3 separate regions of the Homo sapiens genome follow, and all the other regions are linked to region 3. Evidence: promoter capture Hi-C in 16 types of primary human blood cells and fetal thymus (Javierre and others, 2016). All regions are on one chromosome and are shown on one strand. Each heading gives the region's core, a stretch centred on a gene start or on the middle of the fragment in contact. The rest is flanking DNA. Distances are from core to core; before and after follow the strand shown.

The links. The method cuts DNA at HindIII sites, captures the fragments that hold promoters and counts their contacts. A CHiCAGO score of 5 or more calls a contact.
Region 1: a contact is called between a fragment that was not itself captured here and the fragment with the promoter of CHRM4 in region 3, in 1 of 17 cell types (megakaryocytes). The highest score is 5.3, in megakaryocytes.
Region 2: a fragment that was not itself captured here is called in contact with the fragment with the promoter of CHRM4 in region 3 in 5 of 17 cell types (endothelial precursors, megakaryocytes, M1 macrophages and 2 more); the score reaches 9.4 in endothelial precursors.

What each region holds. Positions count from the first base shown.
Region 1 is chr11:46,566,991-46,570,118 of GRCh38, forward strand. All of the region lies in intron 1 of AMBRA1 (autophagy and beclin 1 regulator 1), which reads right to left. Among named protein-coding and RNA genes, the nearest start is that of AMBRA1, 25 kb to the right of the region's middle. The HindIII fragment of the contact is 3,778 bases long and covers 1-3,128 here.
Region 2 is chr11:46,549,998-46,553,087 of GRCh38, forward strand. The region is part of intron 1 of AMBRA1 (autophagy and beclin 1 regulator 1); the gene reads right to left. Among named protein-coding and RNA genes, the nearest start is that of AMBRA1, 42 kb to the right of the region's middle. The HindIII fragment of the contact is 5,972 bases long and covers 1-3,090 here.
Region 3 is chr11:46,390,223-46,393,339 of GRCh38, forward strand. It overlaps CHRM4 (cholinergic receptor muscarinic 4), which reads right to left and starts at 1,554. Exons shown (of 2, transcript NM_000741.5): 1 at 1,309-1,554. RefSeq lists enhancers at 1-446, 447-1,050, 2,568-3,117 and silencers at 1,595-1,684, 1,865-1,914. The HindIII fragment of the contact is 9,198 bases long and covers 1-2,670 here.

The sequences.
Region 1 (3,128 bases), core at 303-2,802, 180 kb after region 3:
GGGCAACAGAGTGAGCCCTGTCTCAAGAAAATAAATAAAATTAAAATAAATAAAAATGTAAGCATATTAAGTAGTGTTTGTTTGTTTGTTTGTTTGTTTGAGACAGAGTCTTGCTCTGTAGCCCAGACTGGAGTGCAGTGGTCCCATCTCGACTTACTGCAGCCTCCGCTTTCCGGATTCAAGCTATTCTCATGCCTCAGCCTCCCGAGCAGCTGGAATTACAGGTGCACACCACAACACCCAGTTAATTTTTGTATTTTTAGTAGAAACGTGGTTTCACCATTTTGGCCAGACTGGTCTCGAACTCCTGACCTCTGGAGATCCACCCACCTCAGCCTCCCAAAGTGCTGGGATTACAGGCATGAGCCACCAAGCACGGCCTTATTTATTTTTTGAGACAGAGTCTTGCTCTGTCTCCCAGGTGGGAGTGCAGTGGCGCCATCTTGGCTCAATGCATTCTCCACCACCCGAGTTCAAGCAGTCCTCTGGCTCAACCTTTCAAATAGCTGGGAGTACATGCAGGCACCACCACATTAATTTTCATATTTTTAGTAGAGATGGGGTTTCGCCATGTTGGCCAAGCCGGTCTCGAACTCCTGGCCTCAAGTGATTCGCCCGCCTCAGCCTCCCAAAGTGCTGGGATTACAGGCGTGAGCCACCGTGCCCAGCCTTTTAAGATGTCTTTTCAGACTTTTGCACTTCTGATGACAAGATGACCCCACCCCAACCAGCGATTCCTCTGTAGCCCCTAGCCAGAAGCAGACTCAGTACATAAGGACCATTTCACATGTGCCTATGATTGCAACCCCAAACCAATCAGCAGCACCCATTCCCTAGCCTGCCGTGTGCCAAACTATACTTGAAAAACCTAGCTGGGGCTGGGCGCGGTGGCTCACACCTGTAATCCCAGCATTTGAGAGGCCGAGGCAGGCGGATCACTTGACATCAGGGGTCTGAAACCAGCCTGGCCAACCTGGTGAAACCCCATCTCTACTAAAAATACAAAAATTACCCAGGTGTGGTGGCACATGCCTGTAATTCCAGATACTTGGCAGGCTGAGGCACAAGAATCACTTGAGCCCTGGAGGTGGAGGTTGCAGTAAGCTGAGATCCTGCCGCTGCACTCCAGCCTGGGAGACAGAGTGAGACTCTGTCTTAAAAAAATAAAATAAAATAAAATCCAGCTGGATGCCGCAGTGGCACACACCTGTAATCCCAGCACTCTGGGTGGCCGAGGCAGGAAGATCTCCTGAGGTCAAGAGTGCAAGACCAGCCTGGCCAACGTGGTGAAACCCCGTCTCTACTAAAAATACAAAAATTAGCCGGGAGTGGTGGCAGGCGCCTGTAATTCCAGCTACTCAGAAGGCTGAGGGAGAAGAATTGCTTGAACCCAGGAGGCAGAGGTTGCAGTGAGCTGAGATCATGCCATTGCACTCCAGCTTGGGTGACAAGAGAGAAACTCAAAAACAAAAAACAAAAAACAAAAAACAAAAAAAAAGTGGCCAGGTGCAACAGCTCATGCCTGTAATCCCACCACTTTGGGAGGCCAAGGTGGGTGGATCACCTGAGGTCAGGAGTTTGAGACCAGCCTGACCAACAGAGACACCCCATCTCTACTAAAAAGATATAAAATAAGCCGGGCGTGGTGGCACATGCCTGTAATCCCAGCTACTCAGGAGGCTGAGGCAAGAGAATCGCTTCAACCTGGGAGGCAGAGATTGCAGTGAGCCGAGACCTCACCATTGCACTCCAGCTTGGGCAACAAGAGCAAAACTCCATCTCAAAAAAAAAAAAAGGAACCCTCAACCCTACCTTTTTTTTTTTTTTTTTTTTTTTGAGACAGTCTTGTTCTGTTGCCCAGGCTGGAGAGCAGTGGCGCCATCTCAGCTCACTGCAACCTCCGCCTCCCAGGTTCAATCGATTCTCCTGCCTCAGTCTCCCAAGTTGCTGAGACTACAGGCATGTGCGACCAAGACCAGCTAATTTTTGTATTTTTAGTAGAGACAGGGTTTTGCCATGTTGGCCAGGCTGGTCTTGAACTCTTAACCTCAGGCGATCCACCTGCCTTGGCCTCCCAAAGTGCTAGGATTATAGTTGTGAGCCACCATGCCCAGCCGACCCTACCTTCTTGAGATAACCTTATAAACTCATACTTCATACAAACATGTATGCATATAATAGGTTTTGCTTCCTGAATCAAAATGGGATTATATATACCACACTCTAGCCTGGGCGACAAGAGGGAATCTCAAAAAAAAAAAAAAAAAAAGTAACCCTCCAACCCTACCCTCTTGAGATAACCTTATAAACTCATAGTTCATACAAACATGTATGCATATAATAGTTTTTGTTTCCTGTACCAAAATGGGATCATATATAACACACATTACCCTGCAGCCTACCTTTTTCACCTATTATCACTATATCACTGAGAGATTAAAAAAAAAAAAATATATATATATATATATATATATAAAGTGCCAAGCAAGATGGCAGGTACAGAATACTTTCTGACTGGGGCAAACCTAGCAGATGTTTACCATGCTAATGTAGGATAGCTGAGTTAGCCATATTCAGTGAGAGTAGAGTCTGTGTACTATAGAAATAGCATTCCAAAGAGATCTGCAAAAATGCAAGGTCTGCCTGAGCATAGTGGCTCATGGATATTTGTAATCCCGGCACTTTGGGAGGCTAAGGTGGGTGTATCACTTGAGGTCAGCAGTTCGAGACCAGCCTGGCCAACATGGCTAGTCATGTTGAGAAATGACCAGCCAACATGGCTGGTCATGAGAGAAATCCCATCTCTACTAAAAATACAAAATTAGCCAGGTGTGTTGGTATGCACAGGTAATCCCAGCTACTCAGGAGGCTGAGGCAGGAGAATCACTTGAACCCAGAAGGCGGAGGTTGCAGTGAGCCAAGATCGCACCACTGCACTCCAGCCTGGGTGACAGAGTGAGACTTCGTCTCAAAATAAATAAATAATAAAGGCCAGGCACGGTGGCTCACGCCTGTAATCCCAGCACTTTGGGAGGCCAAAGCAGGGGATCACCTGAGGTCAGGAGTTCAAGACCAGCCTGGCCAACATGGTGAAATCCTGTCGCTACTAAAAATATAAAAAAATAGCT
Region 2 (3,090 bases), core at 286-2,785, 160 kb after region 3:
TAGTAAAGACCAGGTTTTGCCATGTTGGCCAGGCTGGTCTTGAACTCCTGACCTCAGGTGATCCACCCGCCTCAGCCTCCCAAAGTGCTGGGATTACAGGTGTGAGCTACTGCACCCAGCCGACACTAGCTTTTCTAAAAGATCAGGAGAGTTGACTTGTTAGAATGCCTTACATCCTAGACTCAACTGATTGTTTCCTCATAGTAGCATTTAGCTTGCCTCTCTATACCTTTATTTCCTGTAAACAGCAGGTTAGGTCTAAAACCTTCATTAGTTTAAATGTTTTTGGTGACAGTGCGTCACAGTTGATGTGCCTATATACCTCAAGGTGGAGTACATCAGGTGGCACATATTTTCAGACTGTACCATCATTAGTGATCATTTGTAGAAAGATGATTACTTGGTTGAGGTTGTTAAGAGCCAGACCTCTCTTTATAAAGGAATATCTCCCCCTTTACAATTAGCAATCTGTGGCAATTATTTGGCATCATGTAAATATCCTATTACTTCTCAACTTTTTACTTAATGGGTTAGCATTCATTGATGATTCTCTCTTGTACTTTTTTAATGGGGGGAGATGCTGAAAATATTCATTTTCTAATTCTATCATTATTTCTACATGTATTAGCTGGCTTTCTTGTACAAATAATAAATTTCCCTTAAAAATTGGTGCAGAGTAGTTACTACTTCTGTCTTATTGCTTACAATAGCAAAAACTGAGGATAACCAAGTGTCCATCTAAAGGGTACTGGATGACTAATCTATGGCAAGGAAGATTCTCTGGCTACTGATAAGAACAGATGTCCAGGCCAGGCGCAGTGGCTCACGCCTGTAATCCCAGCACTTTGGGAGGCCGAGACGGGCGGATCGCGAGGTCAGGAGATCGAGACCATCCTGGCTAACACAGTGAAACCGCGTCTCTACTAAAAATACAAAAAAAAAAAAAAAAAATAGCCAGACGTGGTGGCAGGAGACTGTAGTCCCAGCTACTCAGGAGGCTGAGGCAGGAGAATGGCATGAACCCGAGAGGCAGAGCTTGCAGTGAGCCAAGATCGCGCCACTGCACTCCAGCCTGGGCGACGGAGTGAGACTCCGCCTCAAAAAAAAAAAAAAAAAAAGAATAGATGTCCAAAATATATTGTCGAGAGAAAAAAAGCAAGGTACAAAACAATATATCGAGTAAAGCTACCTTTGAATAAGAAGAAAAACTAATGGTAACACGCTGGGGACTGGAGGGACTAGATAAATGGAAACAAAAATGGATTAATACCTGTCAGTGTTTTTGAAATGGAATTTTAGTTAGTTTGTGGGGACTTTATTTTTATTTTTTAAAGAAACAGGGTATCACTCTATCACCCAGGCTGGAGTGCGATGGTGCAATCATGGCTCACTGCAGCCTCAAAGTGCTGGGCTCAAGCAATCCTCCTGCCTCAGCCTCCAGAGTAGCTAACTTTTAAAATTATTTTAAAGATGGGGTCTCGCTATGTTGCCCAGGCTGGTGCAAACCACTGCACTAGGTGCTGAAATTTTAGTTTTTGAAAAAGGTAAATCTGTTATCTTTATCAAAAATTTTCTTTAAAATATTAAACGACACCAGGCGCGATGGCTCACGCCTGTAATCCCAGAACTTTGGGAGGCCAAGGTGGGCGGATCACCTGAGGTCAGGAGTTTGAGACCAGCCTGGCCAACATGGCAAAACCTACTCTACTAAAAATACAAAATTTACTCTACTAAAAAGACAAAAATTAGGCCAGGTGCAGTGGCTCATGCCTGTAATCTCAGCACTTTGGGAGGCCAAGGCAGACGGATCACCTGAGGTCAGGAGTTCGAGACCAGCCTGGTCAACATGGTGAAACCCCATCTCTACTAAAAATACAAAAATTAGCCAGGCGTGGTGGCAGGCACCAGTAATCCCAGCTACTTGGGAGGCTGAGGCTGGAGAATCGCTTGAACCCAGGAGGCGGAGGTTGTAGTGAGCCAAGATCGCACCACTGCACTCCGGCCTGGGTGACAGAGTGAAACTCCATCTCCAAAAAAAAATTAACCAATTAATTAATCAAAAAAATAAATTAAATTAAATATTAAATGAGGCCAGGCATGGTGGCTCACGCCTATAATCCCAGCACTTTGGAAGGCCGAGGCAGGCAGATCACTTGAGGTCAGGAATTCGGTATTAGCCTGGCCAACATGGCGAAACCCCATCTCTACTGAAAATACAAAAATTAGCCGGGCGTGGTGGTGCACACCTGTAATCCCAGCTACTTGGGAGGCTGAGGCACGAGAATTGCTTGAACCCAGGAGGCTGAGGCTGTAGTGAGCCAAGATGGCACCACTGCACTCCAGCTTGAGTGACAGAGTGAGACTCCATCTCAAAAAAAAAAAAAAAAAAAAAAAAAAAAAAAAAAAAAGGCCAGGCACGGTAGCTCACACCTGTAATCCCAGCACTTTGGGAGGCTGAGGTGGGTGGTAACAAGTTCAAGAGATCGAGACCATCCTGGCCAACATGGTGAAACCCCGTCTCTACTAAAAATACAAAAGTTAGCTAGGCGTGATGGTACGCGCCTGTAATCCCAGCTACTCAGGGGGCTGAGGCGGGAGAATCACTTGAACCCGGGAGGCGGAGGTTGCAGTGAGCCGTGCCATTGCACTCCAGCCTGGGCAACAGAGCGAGATTCTGTCTCAAAAAAAAAAAAAAAAAATTAAATTATGCGGTAAGTACATGTTAAGTGAAAAAAGAACACAAAATTCTATATGCAGTATTAATCCCAACTTTGTTTAAAAAATATTAGGAGAAAAAGGATACAAAAGAAATACAATAAATACTAACCATGGTTGTCTCTCAGTAGTGGCATTATTGGTGATTTAATAATTTTAATAGGCAAGTTTCTATTTTTTTTTCACTTTTTAATTTTAAAAATTATTATTACCAGAAGCCCAAACCTCATCACTCACTTTTTTTCTTTTTTGAGACAGAGTCTCGCTCCGTCACCCAGGCTGCAGTGCAGTGGGGCGATCTCGGCTCACTGCAACCTCTGCCTCCTGGGTTCAGGTAATTCTGTTTCAGCCTCCCGAGTAGCTGGGACTACAGGC
Region 3 (3,117 bases), core at 304-2,803:
CGGGCGAGGAGGCCAGACTACTAGGGGCTGCCTGCGACGGGCCACCTAACTTTGGGACGCCGTCTTAGCCCGGTGCCCAGAGGTGTCCAAGTCCTTAAAGATGTGGCAGAGTCCTAGCCTCTGACTGACATCTGTCGAGGGGCCTCTGCGAGAGTCGCCCAACCTGGCCTTGAGGGACACCAGGCACGCTCAGCTCTAATAACTCCCCTAAGAGGCGTTATTGCCAAAAGCCGCCCATTCTCGCGGCGAGAGGGCATCCGCAGTGCACCCACAAGGCGGAGGCCCGGACAGAGCTCGGGTCAGGCGAGTGCAAGACTCTTGTCCTCCTTCTCTCCTCACCCTGCACCCTACCCCAGAGGCACTGTCTAGCCCCTGTGACCAAAGTGGGGACCCAGTTTCTCACGCTAGGGTCGGGCGGGCCTCGAGGGCCGTGTTTTCCTAGGCCATCTGGAGGCTCCTCCATGTCTCCGCCGTGGTCGAAGGAGCCCTGGCTCTCGGGTGCCCCGCCCTCCCTCCAAGCCCCTAGCACGCAGTTCCTGCAGCCTCTGGGCGTGGGCACTGTGTTTCCCGAGTCCTCGACACCCCTCTTCCCCGGGCGAGACCGGAGGGGGTGCTCCGCACGCCCGTGGGGTGGTTTGGGGTGTAGGTCTTCGGTTCTTGGGCATTCACTCCATGGCTCTGGGAAGGCTGTGGCCCCTGGATCTGTCCCTGGGGCGGGAGAGGAGACTCCAGAGTCCAAGGGAGGGAGAGGCGAAGATTTGGCACCGACATTGTGCCCAACACTTCCGTTGCGGGGCCGGAGGAGGGGGCCTGGAGCTGGAGGACCCCGGCTTGGAGGCTGGGCAGCAAAGGGGGGTAGTACCGGAGCGGGGGAGGGGTGTCGGGGAGGGCAGGGGTGTTTTCCGTCGGGGCTCAAGGTCGTAGATGGAGGACTCCAGGGGCCGGAGTGGGCTGGCAGCGCGGGGGCAAAGGGGTGGAGGGAGAGGGAGGGCGGGGAGACGGCGGGAAAAGGGCTCTTTGGGGCTTCAGCGCCCGGCGCCCTGCTGAGCCGCCAGTGGGAGGGCTGGAGTACAGGGTCCCACCCCCGACGGCTGCCCCTGGCTCCGTGGGGTCTGTGGGCGGGCAATCCCCCGCCCCCGACATCCTGGATGCCCACCCCTTCCCACGGGCGCACCCGGGCGCACCTGGAGAAGCCTCCGAGAGCCCCCGGCCTTGCTTCCAGCGGGGTCCCCCAGCCCCGGCCCACTGCCGCTCCCGGCCCGCGCTCGCCCCGGAGGGGGTCTGGCGCCCTGTCCCAGTCGAACCCACCTCTGGGGAGCCTCAGAGCGTCCCGGGGACCTGCTTCCTGCTCTTCCCGGCGAGCCCCCCGCCCCCGCGCCGCCGCGGAGCCACTTACCCGCCGCCTCTGCCCAGCTCCCCTCGCGCCAGACAGACGGCGGGACGGACGCGCGGCCCCGCGGGCCGGCGGGGCGGGCGGCCGGGCCGAGGGCCGGGGGCGGGGACGGGGTGTCGAGGGGCGGCCCCTGCTCCGCCCGCAGCTCCCGGCGCTGTGGCTCCGACTCGCGCTCACGCTCGCACTTTTCCCCGAGCCGCGTGATGTCACGAGGAAGCAGCCAATCGTGGCGGGGCCGCGCCGCCCGCCCCGGGCCGGTCACCCGGCGGCGACGCGCGGGGGTCAACACCCGAGGCGTCGGAGACCCCGGCGGTCCGCGCCCCTCTCGGGGGCTGGCCGGCAGCTCCCTGCTTGGGCACAGAGGGCGCCGCCCACGGCCAGCGACGCAGGGGAGCAGGGGGCGCTGCCCTCCGGGGGGTGGGGGTGTCCGCGTTGTCATGGGGACGCGGCGCCCCCTCGCGGGCTGGGGAAGGAGCTGGCAGCTGGGTCCGGCCGCGCTCCCGCCTCCGCCCTGACCATACTCCCGGGACCCTGAGCTATTTTCGCGCCTCTCCGGGACCTCAGCGCCCTGCGTGGCCCCGCTGGCGGTTTGGCCGCGAGGCGCGGGAGTCTGACCCCAGCGGGAGGCTGCGGGTGGGTGGGGCGGGCTGCGCCGCCAGGGATCCGTCGGGGTCGAGGGCCGGGAGCTCCAGCCGCGCCGCTGCGTGCCGGCCGGGCCGCCCGCGAGGAGGGGCGCCGTCGGGGCCTGGGGAAGCGCAGGAGCGGGTGGACTGGAGAGGTTCGGCCGGGGAGAGAAGAGCCCACCGCGGACCACTCGCCCGCACCCGCTCGGCTGCCTGCTCAGCGTTCCGGGCCGGGGAAGGGGCGCGCCCCTGCTCTCCCAGCCCTGGGATGGGACGCGCCGCCAGTCCAGGCGCAGCCTGGACCGCCAGTTCACCGCCGCCTGTGAGGGACAGTCGGTTGCCCAAGGTCGCCGGGGCCGGAGCCCGGGACAAGATCCCGGAGAGCGGGCAGCCAATCTCAGAGGTCGCTGGGAACCGCACGGGCCGTAGCCTCAGGACTCCGGGCCTCGCCCAGGCTGGGCGGACCTTGGGGCGGCTTCAGCACCTCGGAGAGCTCCCCGCGCCCTGGCCCAGCAGCCTCGCCTGCCTGATTCCGCTCCAGCGCTTGTCTCCCTCCGAGAGCGCCCTTCCGGGGGACCGCCGGGGTCGGACGCTCCCCACTGCGCCCAGGACCGAGGCCTGTAACCCCAAATTCTGATCGCAAACATTTGATTAAGCTTAAGACGTCTGATTTCTTCTCTCGGGGAAACAACTCAAGACCCTCCCCCGAGGGCCGGAGGTGGTGAGGGCGATTGCGGGGGCGGCGGTGGAGGAGAGGCAGGAGCCTCTTGGCAGAGAATGGGAGGGAACTCGAGTAGAAGCCAGCGCTGCGGGGCTCTTGGTGTGGGGTTCTCCGCGCGGAACCCGGAAGTGGAGTTCGGGTCCCCAGAGCTCGCGAGCGCGACGGCTGGGGTTGGTCGGAATTGGGAACTTCAGGGCTGGGGTTGGTTGGCTAGAGTAGGAAGCCATCTTCTGTTGTTACATGAATGATCGGGTCTCCCAAGACCTCATAACTGGGGGTGAAAGAAGCACTACTCTTCTTGCCCCACTTCACAAATAAGGAAAGTTGGTTCATAAGACCCTAAGACGGCACTCCTGCACTTCTTCCACTTTGCCATATCC